2 separate regions of the Homo sapiens genome follow, and region 1 is linked to region 2. The links are contacts of gene promoters, found by promoter capture Hi-C in blood cells and fetal thymus (Javierre and others, 2016). All regions are on one chromosome and are shown on one strand. Each heading gives the region's core, a stretch centred on a gene start or on the middle of the fragment in contact. The rest is flanking DNA. Distances are from core to core; before and after follow the strand shown.

What was found. The method cuts DNA at HindIII sites, captures the fragments that hold promoters and counts their contacts. A CHiCAGO score of 5 or more calls a contact.
Region 1: a contact is called between a fragment that was not itself captured here and the fragment with the promoter of TOPBP1 in region 2, in 1 of 17 cell types (total CD8 T cells). The highest score is 5.2, in total CD8 T cells.

What each region holds. Positions count from the first base shown.
Region 1 is chr3:139,348,839-139,351,947 of GRCh38, reverse strand. MRPS22 (mitochondrial ribosomal protein S22) reads right to left here. Exons shown (of 8, transcript NM_020191.4): 4 at 1,626-1,769; 5 at 888-971. Among named protein-coding and RNA genes, the nearest start is that of MRPS22, 6.4 kb to the right of the region's middle. The HindIII fragment of the contact is 2,342 bases long and covers 689-3,030 here.
Region 2 is chr3:133,660,549-133,663,485 of GRCh38, reverse strand. It overlaps TOPBP1 (DNA topoisomerase II binding protein 1), which reads left to right and starts at 1,545. Exons shown (of 28, transcript NM_007027.4): 1 at 1,545-1,717; 2 at 2,352-2,442. The coding sequence starts at 2,359. It overlaps LOC124909487, which reads right to left and starts at 2,260. Exons shown (of 3, transcript XM_047449438.1): 1 at 2,140-2,260; 2 at 1,453-1,973; 3 at 148-587. The coding sequence starts at 2,260. The coding sequence ends at 438. It also overlaps a transcript of TF not described here. RefSeq lists an enhancer at 1,119-1,188 and a silencer at 1,589-1,758. The HindIII fragment of the contact is 9,162 bases long and covers 1,419-2,937 here.

The sequences.
Region 1 (3,109 bases), core at 610-3,109, 5.7 Mb before region 2:
TCCTAAATGAAGGTTCTGATGGGGGCATTCCTCTGTTCAAAAGGCTTTCAAAGGTCTGCTGACTGAATTCCAGATTCCTCAGCCTAGCATCTGAGGTCACCTATGATGTGGCTACATCCACCTTCCTAACTTAATCTTTAATCACTCCCCTACATATACATGGCATATATAAGCAAACCAGATCACTGGCCGTTTCTCAAGCCTCCTTTTTTCCTGCCTGTTGCTTATACTGTTCTCTCTACCTGAAACACCTCACCCAGCTCCACCTGCCACAACATTTCCTGCACTTCTAGAACCCTCCTTTACACCCCTATGAAGGCTTTCTTCAAAGAATTTGTAATCTTCTCTTAGTGTCTAGCATTTTAGGCCTGAGGAGATAATTATTTGTATACTTACTAGCACCTTTCCCCACAGCCATATCCGGACTGCTGGCTTTGGCACAGCATACTCTATCCTAGTTCGTGGCATCACCTATACTACCCAAGATAATACCTTACACATAGAAGGTACTAATGAATACTTACTGAGCTGTAAGACAAACACACTGTACTTCAGCAAAATTTTAGTAAATAATTTGATTCCTATACGGTAAACTGAAAAGAGAATAGGCTTTGTCATCAAACTTGGGTCCTAACCCTACCACTTAGTAGCTATGCAACTTTCAGCAAGCTACTTAATTCTACAAGCTTAAATTCCCTCATCTTTAATCAAGGGTTGTTGTGATTATAAAATATATATCTGGCACACAACTGTACTCAATAGATTTTCAGGTATTTCTCTTCCCTTTCCCCTGTATCAAAACTTACAACGAAATTCATTGAGCTAGATTAAAAATCTTACTCATAACCATACTTAAGCCTATATTTTAGAAACTAAAATCTACTCACCTTGATATACTCTGTGGAATCTGGCTCAAACTGGGCAAAGCAGAGATTGAGGACATCAACATGCCTGTCCTGGCTATACATAGTCTAAAACCACACAGCAGAGTTAGCATCACATGAGAACACTGAAGTTCAGCACCTGTCCTGATGTCATGACAGGCCTGCCCACCCACATACTGGCCACTCTGTGCTCCTCAAGAAGCATAAAGAAAGAACACAGGCTTTGTAATTGTCACACCTAGATTCAAATTCCAGCTAAGCCAATTATGAGAGAACCCTAGTACAACCCATCTTGGGTGGTAAGGAGGATTCTATTAAGAAAGAAGTCGGCCAGGCATGGTGGCTCACGCCTGTAATCCCAGCACTTTGGGAGTCGGATTGCGGGGGGGGGGTGCGAATCCCGAGGTCAGGAGTTCAAGACCAGCCTGGCCAACATGGTGAAACCCCATCTCTACTAAAAATACAAAAATTAGCCAAGCGTGGTGGCGGGCGCCTGTAATCCCAGCTACTCATGAGGCTGAGGCAGAAGAATCACTTGAAACCAGAAGGTGGAGGTTGCAGTGAGCTGAGATCCCGCCACTGCACTTCAGCCTGGGCAAAAGGAGCGAAACTCCATTTCAAAAAAAAAAAAAAGTCAAGTTATCATTAGAAATGTTTATCTGGATCAAGGCACAAAGCCAACTGGTTCTACAAATAAATCATCACCACTGGCTCTAAAACATAAAACCTAAGTCACCTTACCCTAAGATTTTCTTCCTTGAAAATTATTGGTGTCAAAATTTTACGACCTTCTTTTGGGAAATAAACTTGTATCATTCGGTCCCGTTCTTCCCAAGAGGCTTTGCGTAGTGTGCCACTTGGTTCTCTGACGACAATAAAACGCTCCTAAAATAGAAAAACATAATCAAGGATGCGTTTGTGAGGACGTATTTTTAGTTCCTGTGTCCCACTAAGGCCATTATAAGAATAATTTGCAATCAACAATATAAAATGCAATCATGCATATGAGATCAATGATAATTTTAAACCTCAAAGACTTGGCAAGGTTTGATATTTCCTTCACTAATCACTGCTGTGCATCTGACAATCAGAAATCTAAAATGAAAGTATTCAGTAAGTACCAACTATGGTGCTAACGTGAGTTCGATACGAAAAAAGCTGAGATTCATCTATATCCATTTTAGAGGAAAGAAGTGCTATGACCTTTCCAAACTTTCATTTCTCTATCCCAAAGTCTCATCTAAACAGATTTTACTACTTTATGATCTATGTTTAAAGTCCTTGGGATAAAAAGAACAAACCCAAGAATGAGGAGTCTTACTTCTACACTTTTATGATTTCTTATATTGGCATTAGACATAAACATGTCTGAGAGGCTGTCTGGTCCAACTGTCTCTGGTCACTTCGATCTTCCAACTGCCAACTCCCAGGCCATGGGATCACTTCCTCCTCTAAATTCTACCTACTTTTTATACCATTCAACTGGAAATTTACCCCACACAAGATTTTTGGCATCCCTCAGATATTGTTATATAACTGGAAAAGGGCAGGAAATGTGGATTATAATTTTTTGCAATACCGGGAGTGGCATACATGGAGCTTTGCACATTGCTGATAATTGATACACACCTGATTAATGTATAAATTAACCAAACAGTACTGACTCTCAAGTTTTCAGAGGTGTAGGAGTCTCTAAATGTGTTCTGAAGATAACATAGATGAAACTTCCATCAACACTGCCAATCGAAAAAAAAAAAGCACATGCCAACATAATACAATTTTTCCTCAGAAGGATTTTGGTAATTTGAGAAACCTGAATTCCAAGTTCCTTTCTCCTTTTCAAGTTACAAAATGCTTCCCAACCAACATGCACAGCACTGCAAACATATATTAAAGCATCACAAAACAAAAACTGTAATTAAAATTGAAACTCTGTGACTCATGTTCATTATGTCAAATATACAGATGGCTGGTGTTGAACATAGCTCAAATCGTTTTCTAACCATAATCATGTATAATAAAAGATTAATATGGAGTGAACCTTCTCCTAAACTCAGCATTCTATAGTGTTCTAACGTATTCTGTGGGCTGAATTGTAAACTATTCTCTTTTTATTCTTTACTTGCAAAGGCTCAAATACAAAGCTTACATATTTCTAAAATGCCAGAGTGTTCTTTTAAATTTGCAATCAAGTAAAGAGGAGCCAGAGAATAACAATCACAACA
Region 2 (2,937 bases), core at 296-2,795:
CCCACCTCTAGTGATTTTTGTTTTTTTGCTTTTAAGGCTTTCTTCACCCTTCCCCCAGCAATAGGCCTTTACCTTTGAGCCCCAGTGTTAATTGATTCTGACTCATTTCTGGTAAAAAAAAAAAAAAAAAAAAATTAATGATATTTATTAAAGCACAGTAAGACAGATTTTATTCCGGACCATCAGGATAGGTATAGCAACCATGGCAATGGGATTCTGAATTAGGAGAGAGAGAGTGGGCTCAACTCTAAATACACCATGGGCAAGTGGGAATTTATAGCCAAGGAACAAAAAGCTTGGGGTCACTGGATAAAAAATTACTAAGAAGGAACTTCAGGAGTAAAGGGGTTTCTTGCTGAAAATAGGTCAAGGTGATCAGACATCACCTTGGATGGTAGAGGATGAGGAACCTGATCAGATATTGAGGGTAGAGGGTTCTAACTGGATTTTCCAAGGAAATGCACAGATAAACCTACGAGAAGGTTGAGGAGTCTGACTAAAGTTTGGCCAAGCAAAGAATCTTTGTCACCTTCCATCGGTGTATTCAAAAACTTAAGACTCAAGCTGCTCATTACTATCTTTAGGCTCTAAAAAGAAAAGAAAAACAAAAACAATCAAGGGACATGGCATTATACTTTTACATTAGTAAATCCAAAGTCATTTTCTCAATCTCAGCAGTGAATAATAAAATGATCCTCATTAGTATAGTGGCTAGATTTTATAAAATAAGAAAAAATTTTTTTAAAAAAGAATAAAATGAAAAGAAGCAACAACGAATCAGTTTTCCGCTGGTTATCACTAAGGTTTGCAGGCCCATCTTATCCCCTCTCCCTTTGCTCTCTGCCATCTGAATCTTAGGTTCAGTCCCAGAATCTCCCCAGTACTGAGGCAGATGCAGAGAAAGAGAACGGCGATGTCCACTGAAGGGGAGGAGGAGGGGAGACCATTGAAGATCTTGACAAAGATCCCTTTGCATTAGCTGTGTAATAAGTCATCCTTTCTTCCCTTGCCATCTTGTGGCTGTGTTAGGCGGTGATTCTATTCCTGCTGTGTTGGAGGGAAACCACCCAGTCCGTAGTCAGAAGACCTGGATGCAGTATTAATTCTACCACCTACTAGCCGTGTGCCCTTGAACCCATCATTTAACTTCCTCCGTTTTTACATCTACAAAATGGAACTACCACTATTTGCCTCACGGAATTGTTTTGGATAATACCTTTTCCCGTGCATGCCTGGTATAAGACAGGTGTAAAATAAATATCTATTGAGGAAATCCTTTCTTTCCCTGGCTTTTTTAACAGTAAAGGAGTATTCCTGGCCTGTGGTCCTACCTCTTGAACCGACGGCGCTGGGCCTACTCGCAGCGGAGACTAGGCCCGCCCAGCAAAGCCCTAAACCCAAAGGGTCCGGCCCAAGCTTTCCCTGAAGCCCCACCGCCCACAGACTGCTCACCTCCACGTTTGACATTTCCGCTCTTCTGCTGCAGCTGCCGATGGCGTCACTTCCACCGGAAAAGGCAAGCGCGGCCGCGCGGTTGGCGCGAAAGTCGGTTCCCGTTCTGGGCAATTTCCGGGTTCTCCAGCGTTTGCTTTGGGGTAGGGGCGGCGCCGAGTCGGGGGAGGGGGCTGTGCGCCGGGCTGGCGCCCGACCCCAGCCACCGCCCTGCGGCCAGCGCGTCCCCCGACTCGCCGCCCGGAGACCCCGAGGCTCCAACGAGGTAAGTGAGGCGCGGAGTGGGGACACAGCTCCTCCCCAGCCCCAACTGGGGTTCGCGATGCCTTCTGTGGCCTTCAGGACCCTCTTTTCCTGTCCTGGTAACTGGCCCTGGAGCCGGCGGGTGGGCCTTTGACGCCGAGAGGACGTGGCTTCCGTGATCCCAGAGCCAGGCCTTTTCCTGGAGATGGGAACCGGAGCATCTAGCCTTATGCAGGGCCAAGACCATGCTAACTGGCTTCCATGTTTATATTTAAAATCTGTTTACTGAGGGATGAACGTACCTCGCAGGCCGTGGGTATCCGCAGGGACAGATACACTCTGTGTATCCTTAAAACAAGTGCAATTGAATGTCCATTGGCCTAAAGGGCTTAGAGCCTTCATAGCAGGGCCTTCCTCAGTGTATTCAATTCGGGTTAATTTTGCTGTCTGATTTGCAAGGATTGGTGTTGTCATCTTTTACCTTGGCTTTGTCCAAGTTCCAGGATTTCTTAGAAATGCCGTTGACGAATTCACGGGCAGAGCCAGAATGTCTGTCTTTAGGCATTCTTGTCTGCACAGAAAAATAGGTAGGTTAAACATGCAACTTTTTATCTAATGTGGTTTTGTTCTTGTTAATGGTTCCTTTATTTTGACAGTTCAGAAATGTCCAGAAATGACAAAGAACCGTTTTTTGTGAAGTTTTTAAAGTCTTCAGACAATTCCAAATGTTTTTTTAAAGCTCTCGAGGTAAGAGTTGAAAACATCTTAATACCGTGAATTCATTTTCTTGTTTTTAAGTGTTTTTGATTTGTTGGGCTTTATGTCTTAGAAGTAGATATTTCACTTTCATAATAATTTTATAGTCTACATTAATACAGATATATCATTATCACATATTTTTGAATTGATCTAAGTACATCATTATGTATTTCGGGGGGCTGGAAGTCTATTATCACATTGCTGTTTAATATGGCTGACCTACAGTTCTTGGAAATTAAGTTGCTTTCATTTGTCTCCTAGCCAGAGTGGTCCTTTGCGTGCTGTAGAAATTTGAGTCAGTTGTGTACTGGTCATACTTGAAAATTTTTTGGTTAATTGTTAAAAATTATGTTTTATTATGTACAGTATAATAATTGGATGATAGTAGGGGTGATGTAGATCCTTGCTTCTCACAGAACCCAGCAGTATCAGCATGGCCTGGAAGTTTCTTCGAAATGCAGAATCTTGGCCTCCAACCCAGAC